Regions from separate parts of the Homo sapiens genome. Here region 2 is linked to region 1. The links are contacts of gene promoters, found by promoter capture Hi-C in human tissues and cell types (Jung and others, 2019). All regions are on one chromosome and are shown on one strand. Each heading gives the region's core, a stretch centred on a gene start or on the middle of the fragment in contact. The rest is flanking DNA. Distances are from core to core; before and after follow the strand shown. Region 1 holds the start of LGALS12 (galectin 12). Region 2 overlaps SPINDOC (spindlin interactor and repressor of chromatin binding).

Region 1 (3,032 bases), core at 533-3,032:
TTAACCCAGACACTCCCTTCTACTGAGTCCAGGTCTGTAGGTACTTACTTAACTCTTTCAACCAATAACCAATCAGGAAGTCTTTGAATCCACCTATGACCTGGAAGCCCACCTCTTCGAGTTGTGCCACCTTTCTGGACCAAACCAATGTACATATCACATGTATTGCTTGATGTCTCATGTCTCCCTAAAATGTATAAAACCAAAATCTAGCTCAATAACCTTGAGCACACGTTCTCAGGATCTCCTGGGGCTGTGTCACAGGCCATTGGTCACTCATATTTGGGTCAGAATAAATCTCTTCAACTATTTCAGAATTTGACTCTTTTCTTCAAGAAACTGGCCCCTCCACCCTTAGCTTCCTCTCACTGTGTATACAGAGCACCCTTCCTGAGCACGTCTGATTGAATTTCTCCAAATAAGCACCTTCAGTAACCCAGCTCCACCTACTCGGCAACATCTGAACAAACTCAGCTCCGCACCCAAAGCCCTTCTAGTTCCATCCTAAGTCAATGCTTCTCAAACTTTAAAGTGCATCAGAATCACCTGGAGGGGCTGTTAAAATGCAGATTCCTGGCCCCAGCTTCCAGAGAGTGCTCCTCAGTTGGTCTGGGGTGGGGACCCCAAACTTGCATTTTTAACAAGTTTCCAGGTGAGGCTGATGCTGGTGGCTTGTGGACCACAGCTTAGGTAGCACTGGCTAAGATACCTTATCCCAGGACCCTTCATGCACTCTCCCTCCATCCAGGGAGCTGCTTACTCTGCCCTCAGCACCCCATGCGCTTGAGCCTTTGCCCAGCCTGGTCCTGGTCCAGGAATTCCCTGCTGCCAAGTCTGATGCAATGGGTCAGATCCTGGAACCTCCTAACTCAGGATAAAGTTGAGAGGTTGTGCTGCTTTTTAAAGGGAAAGCCTTATTGGGATTTGAACCAGAACTGGAAGGACTGTAGTAAAATGCAGATATTTGGGCCCACCCCCAGATACAGGCCTCGCTGTGGGACATGCTGCTATGGTCACTTTCTCCATGTACAGATGAACAAAGGGTGGCCCAGAGATAGGAAGTGACTTTCCCAAGGGCACACAGCACATTAGACGAGAGGCTGAAGAGGAAGTCAAGTTTCAAGTCTCCCTCCTGCGCAGTTCTGTGCTTCTTGTGCTGCCTTTTCCAAGCTTAAGGGGCTCTGCTTTTTCCCCTTCCCTCATTCTACTTTCTTGTGACCCCAGCTGGGCCCCAGCATTTCCAGCTGATGCTGAAATGGAGCCTCAGGGGGCTGTAAAACTTGGAAAAGGAAGAAGAGTAGAGGAAGGGGCAAGAAAATGAGAGGAAGAGAGCCAGGCGTGGTGGCTCATGCCTGTAATCCCAGCACTTTGGGAGGCCAAGGCGGGCGGATCACGAGGTCAGGATATCGAGACCATCCTGGCCAACATGGTGAAACTCAGTCTTTACTAACAATACAAAAATTAGCCGGGCGTGGTGGCACATGCCTGTAGTCCCAGAGAGGATGAGGCAGGAGAATTGCTTGAACCCAGGAGGCGGAGGCTGCAGTGAGCTGAGATCGCGCCACTGCGCTGCAGCCTGGCAAGAGAGCAAGACTCCATCTCAAAAAAAAAAAAAAAAAAAGAAAATGAGGGGAAGAGATAAAACCCTTTGTGGTGAAGGGAGGAAGGAATGGGAAGTCACCCAAGGCTGTCCAGGGAGCTGGGGGTGGGGCTGTTTCTGGAACCTAAGCACACGTACCACCTCCCCTTCCTCTGACCTAATGAGGGCTCGAGTTGGAAACCACAAACCCTCGTTGGCCCCACAGGAGCCAGCCTCTGGCTTCTCTCTGCAATGGCCATGTGCTGCAGACCCGGAGTGGGTAGTTAGTTGGTTAATGCCAGTCTTCCTCCCCTGGACACTGAGTTCTGCTGACAGCCCCCGCCCAGCCAGAGCTCTGCTGTATACCACCGGGAGTGGGGCTGGTGTGGAGCCTGGAGGTCGCCCGCTGCCCTCCTAGGGCTGCTCCAGACAGCATTAAAACGCTGCAGGTCGCAGGTGAGACTAACAGCTGGGAGAGCTGCTCCAGGCATTTAGGACCCTGACTGGGGCAGATGAGTCAGCCCAGTGGGGGCAGGGCTCCTGGAACGAGGATCTACAGTTGGAGTTGCCCCACTGTCATGTCACCTGGAGAAAAACTGGACCCAATTCCTGACAGCTTCATTCTGCAACCACCAGTCTTCCACCCGGTGAGTTGTCACTCTAATGTGGAACCTCCTCGGTCTCTGGGCTCTTCCCTTCCAACTGGGCCCACACTCCTGGGTGGTGGGGTGGAAAGGACCTCAGTCTTTCTGCTTCTCCCAGCACCTGCCCTGGGTTCTGGAAGGCCCTCCTGAGCTTAGTAAAGTGGCTGACTGCTAATTCCCACTTGGGTGTAAATGACTGCTAGGCTTCCAGGGTCACTGCATTTTGAAAGTGGCGAAGCCTGGAGCCACAGTGCTCTGCCCCTACTGTAATGGATGCTAGGAGGATGAGGGTGTGGGGGTAGGATTGTTGGGGGAATGCTGATTACTTAGTAAGGACAGTCTCATCCCCAGCCTGGAAGGAAGGGTCAGGTGGGAATTTCCACTCAGGGATAGGGGTTGGGGGTGTTTCTCTCTTTCTCCTCCAGCTCAGTCAGTGCCCAAGAGGTTTTCTGAAGCCAGGCAATGATTTACAGAAGGCTGAATTCCCAGCAGACACCCCCTACTAATGAGCATTAATTATCACTTTCCCTTACTTGGCCCTCCCCTCCCATGAGAGCTGCATCCACTCAGTTAATTACAGGCCTGGAGGGAGCCTGGGAATGGGAAGTGATCAACTGCTGAACCAACCAGCTGAGCTTGCCAAGCTGGCATCCCAAGCCTCCCTCCCATGCTTCTCAGGTGCCTGAGGAATGGGCTGAAGCAGCTGCCCAGGTTACGGCAGCTCCTTGCTTTAGAGGCTGAGAGCTCGCACCTGGAGGGCCATCCTGGTGGTTTTCAGTTTTTTCTAGGTGGTTTGGGTTCCTAAAGGT
Region 2 (2,892 bases), core at 338-2,837, 310 kb after region 1:
CTCATACCACCTCTTCCATGCAGCCCCCAGGTATTAGGGCCTCCTGTGTTTTAATTTTGTCCCATCCTCTCTGGAAGGTAGGAGGGAGATGCAGCCGTGAAGGATCATGGGCACTTCGTAAAAGCACTGAGCTTCCAGGCTGATGCAGGTCTAAGGCTGCCTTCTTTGCTGAACTGGAAAGGGTGATGCCCTGTGAAAGCTTATGGTCTGTCTGTGTACACAAAGAGCAGGTATCAGGCAGCAATAGGAGTGGGACCATGGCTGTAAATGCTCTGTGAGCACTGAGAAGGGAGGCGAGTTCTGAGGGGATGGGGTGGCCTTTAGAACGGGCATGGTGGCTCATGCCTATAATCCCAGCACTTTGGGAGGCTGAAGCAGGAGGATTGCTTGAGCCCGGGAGTTCACAACCAGCCTGGGCAACATAGCAAGACCCCATCTCTTAAAAATTATTTTTTTGTTTGTTAATTAGCTGGGTGTGATAGCATGCATCTATCTGTAGCCCTAGCTACTCAGGTGGCTAAGGCTGGAGGGTCCCTTGAGTCCAGGAGTTGAAGGCAGCAGTAAGCTATGATAACACCACTGTACTCCAGCCTGGGTGACAAAATGAGACCCCCATCTTTTAAAAAAAAAATTATTAGCCAGGCATGGTGGCGCTCACCTGTAGTCCCAGGTGCTTGGGAGGCTGAAGCAGGAGGATCGCTTGAACCCAGGAGGTCAAGGCTGCAATGAGCTGAGATTACGCCATTGCATTCCAGCCTGGGTGACAAAGTGAGACTCTGTCTCAAAATAAATAAATAAAATTTAAAAATTAAAAGAATTTACCTTCCTCATCCTCAAGAAAGTGTAGAAGTCAGATTTGGATGAAATCTATTGTCAGGGATTGGGGTTCTGGAAAGCTTCGCAGGGATGATGTTGCCCAGCCCAATTAGGGTGGTCTGGACAGATGTGCAAAGGCTGGAGACCTGCAAGAATGCAGCCTGTTGGGAAAGTATGTGTAGTTAGTCCTAAGGTCCAAGACTAGATCAAGAGGAAGTATAGACGCGAGAGTCGTGGGATCCCGGGCACATCGGCTGTGTTGAGTGTGGCGTGTGCCTCATGGGCTCCAGGGGAAGGAAGAAGAACACTTTGGCCAGAAATGCTCTCCTCCCCCATCCCACTCAAACCACTGAGTCTGGAGACGTGCTAAGTGTTGTTGGTTGTGGGCACCTTTAGTGATAACACCCTCCCCCTCTCCCCTCGCAGTGACCCAACAGGAGAAGACCCCACCGCCTAGACCCAGCCCGCTAGAGGCAGGCAGTGATGGCTGTGAGGAGCCGAAGCAGCAGGTGTCTTGGGAGCAGGAGTTCCTGGTGGGCAGCAGCCCAGGAGGCAGCGGGCGGGCACTGTGCATGGTGTGTGGCGCTGAGATCCGGGCACCCTCGGCCGACACAGCTCGCTCGCACATCTTGGAGCAGCACCCTCACACCTTGGACCTGAGCCCTTCTGAGAAGAGCAATATCCTGGAGGCCTGGAGTGAAGGGGTGGCCCTCTTGCAAGACGTGAGAGCTGAGCAGCCGTCCCCACCCAACTCAGGTAGTTGGTCCTGGGGCTGGCGAAGGGAGAAGTCGGACTTGTTGGGGCACTAGAAGCTCATTGTGCTCTTGCTCCCTGCAGACTCGGGCCAGGATGCCCACCCAGACCCAGACGCCAACCCAGACGCTGCCAGAATGCCAGCCGAAATCGTCGTTCTCCTTGACTCTGAGGATAACCCATCCCTCCCTAAAAGGAGCCGGCCCAGGGGACTCCGCCCCCTCGAGCTTCCTGGTTAGTCAACAGAGAAGCCAGTGAGCCCCGGTGGAGGTGGGGGTTTGGGGACAGGGTGAAATACAGGCCCTGTGTTCTGGGCAGGTATCTTCAGGAGCCCTGGGGTGGCAGGGTTCGGGGATGGCCTCTTTAAAAGGGTATGAGGTCTTTTCTTTTTGCAGCTGTCCCTGCCACAGAGCCAGGAAATAAGAAGCCCCGTGGTCAGAGATGGAAGGAACCCCCAGGGGAAGAGCCAGTCAGAAAGAAAAGAGGCAGACCTATGACCAAAAACCTGGACCCTGACCCAGGTGAAGGGGAGGCCCGGGGGAGGCGTGGGCTCTGGCCGCAGTGCTCTGAGGAAATCCGCATCAGTGAGGATGGAGCAGGGCCTGGGCGCAGGGCGCCTGCAGCTCCTGAGGCTTTTTCACTCACAGTTCCATCCCGTCCTCCCTTCCAGAGCCCCCATCGCCAGACTCGCCCACGGAGACTTTCGCAGCACCAGCCGAGGTCCGACACTTCACTGACGGCAGCTTCCCCGCCGGCTTCGTCTTGCAGCTCTTCTCCCACACCCAGCTCAGGGGCCCAGACAGCAAGGACTCACCCAAAGACAGGGAAGTGGCAGAAGGAGGCCTTCCCCGGGCGGAGAGCCCCTCTCCAGGTGAGCCCTCCTGAGAGGGAAGCACAGTAGGGACCTCGCAGGCAGCGCTCCTGGGCCAGGCCTCAGAGAGGCTGCTCTATGGCAGAGCCCACAGTAGGGGTGGGTGGGGTGGGTGGGGTGGGTGGTGCTCAGGTTTCCTGGTACACGGGGCCGGGGCAGGGGATCTGAATGATGAGGAAGGCTGGCCTGAAAGCTGAGCTTTTCTTTTTCTGTTTGTTTGTTTTTTGAGACGGAATCTTGCTCTGTTGCCCAGGCTGGCATGTAGTAGCACAAGCCCGGCTCACTACAACCTCTGCCTCCCAGGTTCAAGCAATTCTCCTGCCTCACCCTCCCTAGTAGCTGGGATTACAGGCGTGCGCCACCATACCCGGCTAATTTTTGTATTTTTAGTAGAGACAGGGTTTTCCCATGTTGGCCAGGTTGGTCTCAAACTCTTGACCTCAGGTGATCCA

What was found. Contacts are between HindIII fragments. The study calls those that stand out against the background at their distance.
Region 2: a fragment that was not itself captured here is called in contact with the fragment with the promoter of LGALS12 in region 1 in 1 of the 25 tissues and cell types used here (pancreas).

What each region holds. Positions count from the first base shown.
Region 1 is chr11:63,504,302-63,507,333 of GRCh38, forward strand. LGALS12 (galectin 12) reads left to right here and starts at 1,783. Exons shown (of 9, transcript NM_033101.4): 1 at 1,783-2,226. The coding sequence starts at 2,158. The HindIII fragment of the contact is 17,008 bases long and covers 1-3,032 here.
Region 2 is chr11:63,816,563-63,819,454 of GRCh38, forward strand. It overlaps SPINDOC (spindlin interactor and repressor of chromatin binding), which reads left to right. Exons shown (of 6, transcript NM_138471.3): 2 at 1,243-1,572; 3 at 1,654-1,803; 4 at 1,965-2,090; 5 at 2,240-2,440. Among named protein-coding and RNA genes, the nearest start is that of SPINDOC, 4.6 kb to the left of the region's middle. The HindIII fragment of the contact is 4,226 bases long and covers 1-2,892 here.